2 separate regions of the Homo sapiens genome follow, and region 2 is linked to region 1. The links are contacts of gene promoters, found by promoter capture Hi-C in blood cells and fetal thymus (Javierre and others, 2016). All regions are on one chromosome and are shown on one strand. The core of a region is centred on a gene start or on the middle of the fragment in contact, and the rest is flanking DNA. Distances in the headings are between cores, read along the strand shown.

The links. Contacts are between HindIII fragments. The CHiCAGO score rates a contact against its expected background, and 5 or more counts as called.
Region 2: a contact is called between a fragment that was not itself captured here and the fragment with the promoter of TMED4 in region 1, in 11 of 17 cell types (monocytes, total CD8 T cells, erythroblasts and 8 more). The highest score is 10.3, in monocytes.

Annotation. Positions count from the first base shown.
Region 1 is chr7:44,579,545-44,583,778 of GRCh38, reverse strand. TMED4 (transmembrane p24 trafficking protein 4) reads left to right here and starts at 1,548. Exons shown (of 5, transcript NM_182547.4): 1 at 1,548-1,732; 2 at 1,956-2,056; 3 at 2,205-2,330; 4 at 2,540-2,686; 5 at 4,151-4,234. The coding sequence starts at 1,573. RefSeq lists an enhancer at 1,065-1,174 and silencers at 1,265-1,424, 1,825-1,924. The HindIII fragment of the contact is 9,471 bases long and covers 1-4,234 here.
Region 2 is chr7:44,836,248-44,840,831 of GRCh38, reverse strand. The region is part of intron 3 of H2AZ2 (H2A.Z variant histone 2); the gene reads left to right. Among named protein-coding and RNA genes, the nearest start is that of H2AZ2, 9.5 kb to the left of the region's middle. The HindIII fragment of the contact is 6,713 bases long and covers 1-4,584 here.

The sequences.
Region 1 (4,234 bases), core at 299-2,798:
AAACACATACTAGGTATTAAGTGATGTTAAATAATTTTTAAAATTTTGGTGGGTGTGATAATAGTATAAAGTCCTTATCTGTTAGAGACACACACTGACGTATTTATAGGTGAAATGACATGATGTCCAGGATTTGCTTTAATATACAGCACTTCAAAAAAAAATGCAGAAAGGGATACATGAAATGAGAAAGGCAGCAAACTGTTGTTGAAGTTGGATGATGAGTACAGCCCTCCGTTATTATCCAAGGGGGATAATTCCTGGACCCCTACGGATACCAAAATCCAGGTATGCTCAAGTTCTTTATGAAAGTTCATTGTAATTATTCTATTATATAAAAGTTTCGAAATTCTGTTGATAAAATGTATTTTTAGTAGAGACGGGGGTTTCACCTTGTTGGCCCAACTGGTCTCGAATTTCTAACCTCAGATGATCCACCAGCCTTGGCCGCCCAAAGTGTTAGCATTACAGGCGTGAGCCACCGCGCCCGCCTGGCCTTGATAAAAACAGTTTTAACCTTCCGTTGCTTCGATTCCATGCCCACTAAGTAACATTCCAGTTTGTTTTTCACTTTCAAAAGGATGTGCTGTAACTAGGGGATGTAAACAAGCTCCATGACCCTACTTATTCCAAGTTTTCGTTCCACTCTCCCACCTTTTTTTTAAGACAAGGTATCACCCTCGGTCGCCCAGGCTGGAGCGCGATCACTGCTTAATGCATCCTCGACCTCCTGGGTTCAAGCGATTCTCCTGCCTCAGCCTCCCAAGTAGCTGGGACTACATGCGCACACCACCACACCGGTTAATTTTTTGTAGAGACGGGGGTTTCACCATGTTGCCCAGGCTGGTCCCGAACTCCTGGGCTCAAGGGATCCGCCCGCCTCAGCCTCCCAGAGTGCTGGGATTACAGGTGCCAGCCACCGCGCCCGGCCCCAGCTTCTTAAAAGAATGATCCGAAACTATGGCAGCACTGGGCTTTTGGTCCCCACCCAAGAAATGCCCGCTCGCAGAGGCTCGCCGCGGCAGGCTCTCCCGACGTGACAGAGTGTGGGTCTGGATTCAGCCTCGGTTCTTACGAGTCAGATAGGTGGACACGCAAAGCAAAACATCACAGGGCTTTTTGTATTTAGCACAGAAAACACTTGTGAGCCCGAGCTGAGAACCCAAAAGGCACGCTTCAGGCCATCGTAGCCACCAAGCCTGGTCAGATTCCGTCCACCGTCTCCTTGGTGCTCCGAGACCCAAATCGCTGACTGGGGCCGAGGGCGGGCGTGACTGCGCAGGCGTGCCTCCCCTGCGAGATGCCGGAGGTAAGCTGCGGGGTAAGGGGCGAGAAATTAAGGGCGAACGTCATTGCGCATGCGCCCTCTACTCTCGTTGCGGGGGTAGGCGGGCGCCGGGCTGTGTGAGGGGGCGGGGCGCGGCAGTGTTCGGTACGGATGGAGTTGCAGGAGACGGCGAGTACATATCACTGCGCAGGCGTCCTCTTCCCCTAACTCTCAGGGTCGCTAGGGTGGCGCGCAGGCGCAGAGCGATGCGCAAATGTGCGCAGGCGCTTAGGGGCTGAGGCGCGATGGCAGGTGTCGGGGCTGGGCCTCTGCGGGCGATGGGGCGGCAGGCCCTGCTGCTTCTCGCGCTGTGCGCCACAGGCGCCCAGGGGCTCTACTTCCACATCGGCGAGACCGAGAAGCGCTGTTTCATCGAGGAAATCCCCGACGAGACCATGGTCATCGGTCAGGCGGGCTGAGGGTGGGGAGGCCCTTTGTACCCAGCTCAGCCCTCGGCGGCGCTCCCTCCTCCCGAGCCCAGCCGGGTCGCTGGCTCCCCCAGTACCTAGCCTGAGGGTGCCCCGAGGACGCCAGGCCCCCTGCCTAGAGCTCCGGGCCGCACGTCGGAGGGGGCCGGGCGGAGAGGCGGCCCACTAGGGCCGGTCGTGACTATGTGTCTGCCCCGCAGGCAACTATCGTACCCAGATGTGGGATAAGCAGAAGGAGGTCTTCCTGCCCTCGACCCCTGGCCTGGGCATGCACGTGGAAGTGAAGGACCCCGACGGCAAGGTAAGGCTGGCGTTGGCCCACGCAGCCGTTCTTCAGTGGAGCTCCCGTGGGGTGTAAAGCACTGCCTGGAGGAGGCCTCAAGGGACAGGAACTTGCACTTGGAGAGCCTGCGGTATAAAGGTGGGGCCTTCACTCACATATGTTGCAGGTGGTGCTGTCCCGGCAGTACGGCTCGGAGGGCCGCTTCACGTTCACCTCCCACACGCCCGGTGACCATCAAATCTGTCTGCACTCCAATTCTACCAGGATGGCTCTCTTCGCTGGTGGCAAACTGGTAAGAGGATTTTCTCTTTGGCTTCAGCTTAGAATCTCTCACTTGTTTCCAAATTTTGATTTATCAAGATTGTGAAACTTTGTAGCACAGTCAGAATTGGGGAGACAGATGTTGCCTTCTGCTCCACAGCCAGGGACAATAGTGGGTTCCATACCCTGGAACAGACAACTGGAGGCCCCACCACTCATACATTCCATGTTTCCTTGTAGCGGGTGCATCTCGACATCCAGGTTGGGGAGCATGCCAACAACTACCCTGAGATTGCTGCAAAAGATAAGCTGACGGAGCTACAGCTCCGCGCCCGCCAGTTGCTTGATCAGGTGGAACAGATTCAGAAGGAGCAGGATTACCAAAGGGCAAGTGCATATCTCCTTGTAATTTGAGAGGGCAGTTGACCTTTATACCCACTATACCTACTCAAGTTTCTGCTTGGGAGATCAGCTCTGCAGAGAATGGAATGAGAAGTATTGGTTTAGATAGGTTGTTTGTTTGTTGTTTTTGAGACGGAGTTTCACTCTTGTTGCCCATGCTGGAGTGCAATGCCATGATCTTGGCTCACTGCAACCTCCGCCTCCCCAGGTTCAAGCGATTCTCCTGCCTCAGCCTCCTGAGTAGCTGGGATTACAGGCATGCGCCACCATGCCTGGCTAATTTTGTACTTTTAGTAGAGACGGGGGTTTCTCCACGTTGGTCAGGCTGGTCTCGAACTCCCGACATCAAGTGATCCGCCCGCCTCAGCCTCCCAAAGTGCTGGGATTACAGGTGTGAGCTACCGCGCCCTGCCTGTTTTGCTTTTTTATCAAAACATTTTATTGTGGTAAAATATAACACCAAATGTGTCATTTTAACTGTCTATATAGTTCAGTGGTATTAAGTGCCTTCATAATGTTGTGCTACCAACACCATCATCCAGCTCCAGAACTTTTTCATCTTCTCAAACTAAAAATCTGTACTTATTTTGTTTTGTTTTTGAGATGGAGTCTCGCTCTGTTGCCCAGGCTGGAGCGCAGTGGCGCCATCTCGGCTCACTGCACCCTCCGCCTCCCAGGTTCAAGCGATTCTCCTGCCTCAGCCTCCCAAGTAGCTGGGATTACAGGCAAGTGCCACCATGCGTGGCTCATTTTTGTGTTTTTAGTAGAGACTGGGTTTCACCATGTTGGCCAGGCTGGTCTTGAACTCCTGGCCTCAGGCAATCCACTGCCGCAGCCTCCCAAAGTGTTGGGATTACAGGCGTGAGCCACTGCACCCAGCAAATCTGTACTTATTATAAACAATAACTTCCCGTTTCCTTTTGTCCTGACACCCACCATTCTACTTTCTGTCTCTATGATCCTGACTACCCTATCTCATATAAGTGGAATCATTCAGTATTTGTCCTTTTGTGACTGGCTTATTTCACTGAGTATAATGTTCTCACAGTTCATCCATGTTATAGCATGTGTCAGAATTTCTTAAGGCTAATATTCCATTGTATGCATGTGCCACATTTCGCTTTCAGTAGTCATTTTTAAGCTCTATAAAATAAAATGAAGAAAGGACAGTTCACAATCTAGTAATAGCCATTGCCTACCTGTTTTTCTTGGACTCTTGTTGGAAATGGTAGGATCATGATTTCAGTCCTAACAGAGATGCTTGTGGAGGGACAGCCTGTCCCTTTCTTGGGGCAGCCTCAGTGGGGAGACCATAGCACTCCTAATGGAGTCACAGATAGTATTCCAAAAGGAGTTTGGTCCTGGAGTTGAGTAATTACACGCAGGGAGGGACCTCACAACAGCCAGACTGTTTCTCCTGCTCACTTAACCCTGTGTTGCCCCACACAGTATCGTGAAGAGCGCTTCCGACTGACGAGCGAGAGCACCAACCAGAGGGTCCTATGGTGGTCCATTGCTCAGACTGTCATCCTC
Region 2 (4,584 bases), core at 845-3,344, 260 kb before region 1:
ATGGAATATATTTGAAAAAAGACATATTATGCTCACTGGGGCTTTTTTGTTTGTTTGTTTGGAGACAGAGTTTCACTCTTGTTTCCCAGGCTGGAGTGCAATGGCCAGTCTCGGCTCACTGCAACCTCTGCCTCCCGGATTCAAGCGATTCTCCCACCTCAGCCTCCCAAGTAGCTGGGACTACAGGTGTGCACCACTGTGCCCAGCTAATTTTTGTATTTTTAGTAGAGACAGAGTTTCACCATGTTGGCCACACTGGTCTCAAACTCCTGACCTCAGGTGATCTACCTGCCTCAGCCTCCCAAAGTGCTGAGATTACAGGCTTGAGCCACCACGTCCGGCCTCATTGGTTTCTTTAATAGCAGTTTGAGATGCATCTTGTCAGCTATTACCCAATGCCAATGTAAAAGAACCTTGGTGTACTTGTTTTTAAAGCTAAGCAAGGGGCTGGGCACAGTGATTCACGCCTGTAATGCCAACACTTTGGGCGGCTGAGGTGGGTAGATTGTACACTTGAGTCCTGGAGTTCCAGACTAGGCTGGGTGACAGAGCAAGACCCTATCTCAAAGTAAAAAAATTTTTAAAAGTTAAGCAAGGGCCAGCAATCTCTTATCTTTTATTTTTATTTTTTTATTTTGAGACTGGGTCTCACTCTGTCACCTAGGCTGGAGTATAGTGGCATGATCATAGCTCACTCCAACCTCAAACCTCCTGGGTTCAAAGGATCCTCCTGCCTCAGCCTCCCTAGTAGCTGTGACTTCAGGTGTGTGCCACCACACCTGGCTAATTATTTATTTATTTATTTATTTATTTATTTATTTATTTATTTTGAGACAGGGTCTTGCTCTGTATCCCAGGTGGAGTGCAATGGCACAATCTTGGCTCACTGCAACCTCCACTTCTTGGGTTCAAGCAATTCTCCTGCCTCAGCCTCCCCAGTAACTGGGATTACAGGCACCCGCCACTACACCCGGCTAATTTTTGTATTTTTAGAGGAGACTGGGTTTCACCATGTTGGCCAGGTCAGTCTCAAATTCCTGACCTCAGGTGATCCACTTGCCTCAGCCTCCCAAAGTGCTGGGACTACAGGTGTGAGCCACTGCGCTGGGTGCTAATTTTTTATTTTTATTTTATTTATTTATTTTTTTTTGAGACAGAGGCTCGCTCTGTCACCCAGGCTGGAGTGCAGTGGTGCAGTCTCGGCTCACTGCAACCTCCGCCTCCCGGATTCACGCCATTCTCCCACCTCAGCCTCCCGAGTAGCTGGGACTACAGGCACCCGCCACCACGCCCGGCTAATTTTTTTTTTTTGTATTTTTAGTAGAGACGGGGTTTCACCGTGGTAGCCAGGATGGTCTCGATCTCCTGACCTCGTGAGCCACCCACCTCCACCTCCCAAAGTGCTGGGATTACAGGCGTGAGCCACCGCGCCCAGCCTATTTTTTATTTTTTTGTGGAGACAGGGCTCCCTATGTTACCCAGGCTGGTTTCTAACTCCTAGCCTCAAGTGGTCCTCCCAAGTTGCTGGGATTACAGACATAAACCACCATACCCCAGTGAACTTTGAAGTATGTATGTAATCAGTAGACAGTATTTGTGAAGTTAGAGCATAATGTTGTAGTTTATGAAGATTTGGGATGATGTAAAGTTTGGCCAGTGTGATGATATATAAAAATCACAAATATGATAATAGAAGTAAAAGACTCAGTCTGTCCTGGTTCTCTGCAGGGTTATACATACAAAATTGCTGTATATTACTCAGTTTGAAATTTCAGGAAGACAAGTTAATTGGGCAAGAGTTCTTGGGTCACAGACCACCACTTTCCCCATCCCTATTCCTCCTTTAAAAAAATCCGTTGGGAAGTCATAAAACTTCAGCTACATTCCAGATTGGGGAAGTAATTTGAGTAACAAGTAGGTCAAGTGTAGACGCATTCATTCTGGTGGAAACAGAAGGGTCTTACTTGGGGAGATGTGATTGGGAGCTAGGCTGAGGAATTTAGCTTTTAATCTGTATGTCAGTTATCATTGCTGTCATTTATTTCATTAGTCTCACCAAGTCATCTGTGTCCCACTGGGGATTTAACATCGAATTATGGATGTTATGGATAGTTTCAGCTTCTCTGTGTCATGATCAAGGGGTGTTTTGTTTTTGGGGTTTTTCTTGTGTGTTTGTTTTGAGACAGGATCTCTCTCTGTCTCCCAGGCTGGAAGGCAGGGACATGATCTCTGCTCATTGCAACCTCTGCCTTCTGGGTTCCAGTAATTCTCCCACCTCAGCCTCCGGAGTAGCTGGGGCTACCGGTGTGCATCACCACACCTGGCTAATTTTTGTTATTTTCTTGTAGAGACAAGGTTTTGCCATGTTGGCCAGGCTGATCTCGAACTCCTGACCTCAAATGATCTGTCCGCCCCAGCCTCCCAAAGTGCTGGGATTACAGACATGAGCCACCTTTTATTAAAAGAGGCCACCTGGCCTCTTTTATTTTTAAAAATTTTTAAATTTTAATTAAAATACATTTTAAAACTTTTCTATAAGCATTAAGAAATAAATTTCACGGCTGGGCACGGTGGCTTACGCCTGTAATCCCAGCACTTTGGGAGGCTGAGGTGGGCAGATCACGAGGTCAAGAGATCGAGACCATTCTGGCCAACATAGTGAAACCCTATCTCTACTAAAGATACAAAAATTAGCTGGGCATGGTGGCGTGTGTCTGTGTATAGTCCCAGCTACTCAGGAGGCTGAGGCAGGAGAATTGCTTGAACCCAGAAGGCAGAGGTTGCAGCGAGCCGAGATCGCGCCACTGCACTCCAGCCTGGCGACAGAACGAGACTCCGTCTTAAAAAAAAGAAAAAAAAAGAAATTTCAGCTATTAAAGGTTCTGCAGAAATAGACCACATAGATATATTAAAATATATGACTTTGGCTGGGTGTGGTGTCTTACATTGAACATTGTGGTTCACAAGGTTCAAGCCCCATCTATCTAAGCCCCCCCCCCCTTTTTTTTAAATCTTTGGGAACTTTGGTTAAAATTTTTAAAGTTTACACAGTGGCTCATGCCTGTAATCTCAGCACTTTGGGAGGTCAATGTGGGCAGATCATTTGAGTCCAGGACTTCCAGACCAGCCTGGACAACATGGCAAAACCCTGTCTCTACAAAAAAATACAAAAAATTGACCAGATGTGATAGTGTGCACCTGTAGTCCCAGCTAGTGGAGAGGGTGAGGTGGGATGATTACCTGACCCAGGAGGTTGAGGCTGCAGTGAGCCATGATTGCACCACTGCACTCCAGCCTGCATGACAGTGAGACCATGTCTCAAAAAAAAAAAACAATTTAGGTTAAGATTGGACAATGAATGTGTGGGTGCAGTCAACTTTTTTTTTTTTTTTTTTTTTCTTTTTTTTTTTTTTGAGAGTCTTGCTCTGTCGCCCAGGCTGGAGTTCAGTGGCTCAATCTCGGCTCACTGCAACCTCCACCTCCTGGGTTCAACCGATTCTCCTGCCTCAGCCTCCCAAGTAGCTGGGATTACAGGCGTGTGCCACCACACCTTGCTGATTTTTGTATTTTTAAAGTTCAGCAGTTGATTCTCCTGTATACCCAACACTGCTCTATTTAAAACGAGGAGGTGGCCTGGCGTAGTGGTTCACGTCTGTAATCCCAACACTTTGGGAGGCCAAGGCGGGCAGATCACAAGGTCAGGAGTTTGATTTTTTTATTTTTTTTGAGACGGAGTCAAGGTCAGGAATTTGAGACCAGCCTGGCCAATATGGTGAAACCCTGTGTCTGTTTTTTTTGTTGTTTTGTTTTTTGTTTTTGTTTTTGTTTTTCTTTTCGAGACAGAGTCTCGCTCTGTCGTCCAGGCTGGAGTGCAGTGGCGCCATCTCGGCTCACTGCAAGCTCCGCTTCCTGGGTTCACGCCATTCTCCTGCCTCACCCTCCCGAGTAGCTGGGACTACAGGTGCCTGCCACCACACCCAGCTAATTTTTTGTATTTTTAGTAGAGACAGGGTTTCACCGTGTTAGCCAGGATGGTCTCGATCTCCTGACCTCATGATCCACCCCTCTCGGCCTCCCAAATTGCTGGGATTACAGGTGTGAGCCACCGCGCCTAGCCGAAACCCCATCTCTACTAAAAATACAAAACTTACTCAGGCATGGTGGCAGGCGCCTGTAGTCCCAGCTACTCGGGAGGCTGAGGCAGGAGAATAGTTTGAACCCGGGAGGTGGTGGTTGCAGTGATCTGAGATCACACCGTTGCACTGCAGCCTGGGCAACACAGCAAGACTCCATCTCAAAAAAAAGAAATTATTTTAAATTATATTTTAGGCTGAGTGCGATGGCCCAGTACACCTGTAATCCCAGCACTTTGAGAGGCTGAAGTAGGAAGATCACTTGAGGCCAAGGGTTTGACACCAGCCCTGGCAACATAATGATGTCCCATCTCTTTTATTTTTAAAAAATTTTAAAAATACATTTGAAAACTTCTAAAAGCATTAAGAAATACATTTCAGCTATTAAGGGTTGTACAAAAATGGTCTACAAGTATATATTAAAATATATGACTTTGACTGGGCGTGGTGG